Regions from separate parts of the Homo sapiens genome. Here region 2 is linked to region 1. Evidence: promoter capture Hi-C in human tissues and cell types (Jung and others, 2019). All regions are on one chromosome and are shown on one strand. The core of a region is centred on a gene start or on the middle of the fragment in contact, and the rest is flanking DNA. Distances in the headings are between cores, read along the strand shown.

What was found. Contacts are between HindIII fragments. The study calls those that stand out against the background at their distance.
Region 2: a fragment that was not itself captured here is called in contact with the fragment with the promoter of ZNF454 in region 1 in 1 of the 25 tissues and cell types used here (small bowel).

What each region holds. Positions count from the first base shown.
Region 1 is chr5:178,939,566-178,942,728 of GRCh38, forward strand. ZNF454 (zinc finger protein 454) reads left to right here and starts at 1,633. Exons shown (of 5, transcript NM_001178089.3): 1 at 1,633-1,879; 2 at 3,120-3,163. ZNF454-DT (ZNF454 divergent transcript) reads right to left here and starts at 1,450. Exons shown (of 1, transcript NR_186409.1): 1 at 1-1,450. The HindIII fragment of the contact is 17,658 bases long and covers 1-3,163 here.
Region 2 is chr5:179,097,036-179,100,149 of GRCh38, forward strand. No RefSeq gene overlaps it. Among named protein-coding and RNA genes, the nearest start is that of ZNF354C, 38 kb to the left of the region's middle. The HindIII fragment of the contact is 4,105 bases long and covers 1-3,114 here.

The sequences.
Region 1 (3,163 bases), core at 383-2,882:
TCCTTCCTTCAAGGCCTGTAGTTACTCCTGCAACAGCATCTCGCAGTCTTCCTTGTTCAGTAGGCCCTCGCCAGTCATACTGACCTTGCCAAGCCTGGAGTTCACCAAGCACACTTCTCTCTGGTCAGCATTTCTGTTCCCTCCCTTTAGAAGGCACTTTACCCATACAGTCACATCGTTTCTTCCCTCACTGTATTCAAATCTCTGCTCAGGTGTTACCTCCTCAAAGAGAACTTCCAAAACTGCTGCTTGAAATAATTCCCCGCCCCATCACACCCTAACCCCTAACAGTAGTGTTATCACTACCAGATAAATACTTTCTACTTGTCTGACCCCTCCTCTAGTACAATTAAAACTCCATGAGTGCAGGGTTTTCACAGCTATTTCTCCAGCCCCTGGACTCGGGGTTCTTACTCTCTGGAGCCCAGTTTGAGTGACCTGGAGTCACGAGGGAGGCGAGAGAGAAGGGTTACCAGCGATACTCACACAACATCCTCCCCCTCTGGTGCTTTGCCGGGTCCCTGGGAACTGCTACAGGGGCTGCACAGCGGCTGACCCTGGCCTTGTCAAGCACTTGACACATAAGTGCTCCAAAGTGTCTATGGAATGAAATCTTCAATAAAACTCCAAACAGAATGCTGTAGTCACTGACACTGCTTCCTAAAACGTGGCCAACAATTCCGTATGTGACAAACAGGTCACATTCTTGATTTTTTTTAACGACCAACAAAGTTAAAACCCTCTCATCTTTCCTTCCTGAGCTCCATGCAAATTACCTATTCAAAAGCAACTAAGTATCTCCAGTTGGATATTCTTAGGCATCATCTCATCCTTGCCAGTCTCTGCAAAATATGGTCGACAAAAATAAATACCACCTTCTTAAATACCACCCAGCTGTCCAAGATGGAGACTTCCTGGCATCCAGGCGCCTTCCTCTCCCTCGTCCCCACCTCTGAGAAGTTCCCAAGCACGAAGTGTTCTGCGTCCCGAACATTCCAGGGGCCGCCAGCCACCATGGGCTCTGTCCTGAGGTGCCAAGCAGGACATCCCTGCCCGACATCCTTGTCCTCCCGCACCGCACACGCGTTAGTGGCTGTGGCGTCGCCACCCCAGCACACGCTGGCCCGCCCGCAGTGCCAGGCTGGAAGTGTCGGGCGCTTGCCAGGCCAAGGGGCAATTCTGTTGCCTTCCAGGCCTTTTCGGCGCGGTCCCAGTCAGGAACGCGCCCTGTCGCCTCCCACTCCGTCTTCCGGACCCTCCCGATCCTCTCTCGTCAGCGATCGGGCGTCGCTCCCCTGGACTAACCTCCCTTGCCCCATCTTCAGCTTTTCGCTGATCTGCATCTTCCTGCGCCTTAGTGCAAGGCAGAGACCTGGTTCTAAAGCGAACGGAACGGAACCGATTCTGTAAGTTGCAATGAGCGCGCTGAGGTCGGCGTGGAGGGGTCTCTGGGAAAGGTAGTTTCCGCGCCTAAAGCGCCGGGGCCGGGCCCTGTTCCCGCAGGCGCAAGGCAGCACTGTCTCCGCCGATTGTCCCTCTGGGAAGTGGAGTCTGGCCGGCGGAACTGCAGCAGCCCTGAGACTTGTGGGAATTCGGCCCAAGGGTTCCCAGGGCAACGCGCAAGCGCAGTTCGGCTCCCGGCTGCAGACTCCAGCTCATTGTGTTCTGACTGCGATGTGGCGCTTGCGATCTCTCGCCGCCGGCAGAGGCTCCTCGAAGAGCGACACGGGGCTGACCAGGCACGGTGGTCAAAGCCGCAGAGGGAGAGCGGGAGCGGTCGTGAGGTCGTCTGGGGAGAAGGGCGGAGGCAAAGCCGAGGAGGTGCGGGTTGTGGTCCATTCTGGAGGACGCTGATCGAATGCCCCAAACTTCCCGGAATGTATGTCTGAGATTTGATCCCAGAGAGGGAGGACGGCCAGGGGTGGTCATCCTGGGCTGAGGGTCGAGTCTGTGAGTGCCTGTGGAGGAGATGGAGCCAGGGCCTCTGGCATGTGTCTTGGAGCGGACTCCGAGAAGCCCAGGGTTTCCTCTCAGGTGATAGATACACGCCTGGCGTGGTTCCGAGTCCTGCGCCAGGAACTCGCCAAGGCCGGAGGCAGCCGCTGCGCAGCCCCTGCCACAGCCCCCGAGGGACCTGGCGAAGCGGCAGGGGCGGGACGGGGCTGTGTGTGATTAGGGTTCCTAACCCTTCCCTCTCCCCTCCCGCCCAGCTCACACAAACGCCGCTTCTGCCCACCCGTGACTCCAGGCCACCCAGACTGGGCCCCAGAGAGTGAGAACACTGAGGCCAGAGAAGGGTTTGCCTGAGAGGCTTCGACAGTGAAGAGCCTTCTTAGCCTCCTTTCTGAGGAGGAAGAAGACCACCCTCCTTTTCCTCTTCTCCTGTCACTGCCAGATAAGGCAGCTGTTCCAAAGCCGCAGAGGGAGAGCGGAGCGGTCTTCCAATCCAGTCGAACCCAGACACTGCCCTCCGTTGCCTCTCCCCAGCGCTCCCACCTTTTCGGGTACATCCTGGTGGGTTCTGGAGCTGAATAACTTGTTAAAGAGATAATTCTCGGCCGAGTGCGGCGGCTCACGCCTGTAATCCCAGTACTTTGGGAGGCCGAGGCGAGCCGATCACCTGAGGTCCGGAGTTCGAGACCAGTCCGACCAACATGGTGAAATCCCGGTCTCTACTAAAAATATAAAAAATTAGCCGGGCGTGGTGGCGGGTGCGTGTAATCCCAGCTACTCCGGAGACTGGGGCGGGAGAATCGCTTGAACCCGGAAGGCGGAGGTTGCAGTGAGCCAAGATCGTGCCACTGCACTCCAGCCTAGGTGACAGAGCGAGACTCTGTCTCAAACAAACAAACAAAAAAAGAATTCTCTTGAGATCGCTCAGTGAGGCTGAAGGGAAAGACCAGAGGGTGGGTGGAAGGCATGAGAACTGGACCTGGAGCAGGCTTTCTGCAGGGAAAAGTCAATGTATAGTACCCTCAGAAGGAGGAGAGAGAATGGGGAGCAAACAGGAACCAAAACACTCACTGCTTGGGGTACTGGAGGCCTCCCAGGATGTGAATGCTCACTGCCTCGCTCTGGACTGCTGTATGAGAGCTTTTGACCCAGTTCTCTCCTAATAGCAGGTGTGTGGACCCTTCTAGCCTGAGGAGTCCTGCAGGTGTGA
Region 2 (3,114 bases), core at 41-2,540, 160 kb after region 1:
TGCACTCTCAAAATAATCCTCCAAGATCTTGGGCTCCACCAATATTTCACAAACTCCTATCTGAATCCTGAGGCAGAGAGACTTTTGATTCTGGATAGGCGCAGAATTCTTGTTGTTGTGGGGAGATGTGAGCAGGTTACCTTCTATTCTGCCATCTTGGTGACCAGAATTTTCTAATTTTCAATGTTTTTTTGACCTGTGATTTATTTAGAGGTATGATTTTTAAATTTCAAAAATATATTTTAGCTAAATTTTAAAATATTGATTTCTAATTTAATTTTGTAGTTAAGTTACATTAAGTAAAAAATCATTTCAATTTATTATTATTCTTTAATTGTCCAATATGTTGTCAGTTGTCATAAATATTTTGTATGTGTTTGAAAAGAATGTGAGTTGTTCAATTGTTGGAGGCTCAGAGATATATGTGTTTTCCTTAGATCAAGCTTGTTTGTTGTATTATTCAAATTATATATTATTATTTTTTCTGCTGAGCTATCAATTACTGAGAGACATGTTAAACTTTTTCCCTAGGATGGAGGCTTTGTCAATTTCTCCTTGAGGTTATGACAACTTTTGATATATTAACCAGGTTAATTGAACTTTGATATCTTTATAATATTTATTTCATGACCCTTGTCTATCCAGTAATTTTTTTTTGCCTGAAAATCAAAAGCCCTGTATATACAGAATTATGGTGATATATATTAGAAACACTGTAGTTTAAATTGCTTTAGAAATAAGGAAGAAACTGCCACATTTGGGAACTTTGCTAGGAATTTAAATGCCTATTCTCTTTCACCACTAAAACTTTGTGTTACGGGTTTGTCACACATTATTGGAAATGGCACTTAGTCTAATTCCAATTGTTAGAAATAGACAATTTTATATTAAAAGTTGAAATATAGGTTCCAGAAATTTCTGATTTGATAATTTAGGCCAAATATCCTGCTGAAAACAGCTAAAAAGGCAAACGGCTGAGCAAGAAAAAAAAAATGGCTGAAAGGTGAGGAGGGGATTGGAATTCAGAGAGGCGAGCCATAGCCACTAGAAAACTTAAACAATCATATGAACCAACTTGACCTAACTGACACCCCCAGAGCACTTTAGCCAACAACAGCAGACTACGCATTATTTTCAACACATACAAACCACATACCAGACCATTTACAAAGTCTCAATACATTTAAAAGGATTGAAATAACACAAAGTATGTTTTTCTGGCCACAATGATAGTAAATCAAACACAGGAATAAAACGGGCCCAGGCACAGTGGCTCACGCCTGTAATCCCAGCACTTTGGGAGGCTGAGGCAGGTGACTTACTTGAGGTCAGGCATTCGAGACCAGCCTGGCCAACATGGTGAAACGCCATCTCTAAAAATATAAAAATTAGCTGGGTGTGGTGGCACACACCTGCAATCCCAGCTACTTGGGAGGCTAAGGCAGGAGAATCGCTTGAACTTGGGAGGCAGACGTTGCAATGAGTCGAGATTGCACCACTGCACTCCAACCTGGGCAACAGAGTGAGACTCTGTCAAAAAAATAAATAAATAAATAAAATTGGGACATACCCAAGTATTTTGAAAATTAAAAACAATTTTTAATCCACGAGTAGAAGAGCAAACTAACCCAAAGCAAGAAGAAGAATATATTAAGGATTCAAATGAAAATCAGTGCAGTAGAAAATAGAAAAACAGGAGAGAAAAATCAGTGAAACAAAAAGTTGCTTCTTTGAAAAGACCAGCAAGATTGAAAAACCTTTAGCTAACGTAAGAAAAAAGGTAAAGGCCGGGCGCGGTGGCTCACGCCTGTAATCCCAGCACTTTGGGAGGCCGAGGCGGGTGGATCACGAGGTCAGGAGATCGAGACCATCCTGGCTAACAAGGTGAAACCCCGTCTCTACTAAAAATACAAAAAATTAGCCGGGCGCGGTGGCAGGCGCCTGTAGTCCCAGCTACTCGGGAGGCTGAGGCAGGAGAATGGCGTGAACCCGGGAAGCAGAGCTTGCAGTGAGCCGAGATTGCGCCACTGCAGTCCGCAGTCCGGCCTGGGCGACAGAGCGAGACTCCATCTCAAAAAAAAAAAAAAAAGAAAAAAGGTAAAAAAACACAAATGCATAAATAACGAGTGAATATGGGGATGTCATTACTGACCCTACAACAGTTGAAAGGATTATAAGGGAATACCAGGAATAATTGTATGGCAACAAATCAGATAACTCAAATGAAACAGAAATTTCTAGAAAGACACAAACTACCAAAAGTGATTCAAGAAGAAGAAATATAAAATCTTAATAGACTTATAATAAGCAAAAAAAAACCCACAAAAAACTGAATTCATAATATAAAATCTGGCCACAAAGAAAAGCCTGGGCCAGAGGTGTTCACTGGTGGTCTATCAAACATTTAAGACAGAGGTAATATCAATTCTTCACAAACTCTTCCAGTAGAAGGAATAGGAAGAACCACTTCCCAATTTATTCTATGAGGCCAGTATTACCCTGAAACCAAAGCCAAAGACATCATGAGAAAACTACAGAATAGAGGTACAAATGCCCTTAACAAAAGATTAGCGAAACAACTTCAGGAACAGAGAAAAAGAATTATATACCATGACCAAGTGGGATGTATCTGTGGAATGCAAGGTTGATTTAACATTTGAAAATCAATTAATATAATAGACAATATTAATAGGAGAAAGGACAAAATTTATGTGATTATCTCATTAGATACAAAAAAGATATTCAATAAAATCCAATACCCATTCATGATAAAAAAAAAACTCTCAATAAATTAGGAATAGAAGGCACCTTCCTCAGTCTAATAAAGTGCATCTCTAAGAAGCTTACAGCTAACATCATACTTAATGGTGAAATACTGCATGCTTTTCCTATACGATGAGGAATAAGGCAAGCATGTTTGCTCTTGCCATTTCTAGTCAGCATTGTAGGGAAGTTCTAGCCAGTCCAATAATAAAAAAGAAGGCAGTCCAGACTGAAAAAAGATAAATAAAACTGTATTTATTCACAAATATGAAGAAAATACCAGGACGGGCACAGTGGTTCACGCCAGTGGAACCAGCACTTTGGGAGGACCAGGTAGAAGGATCGCTTGAG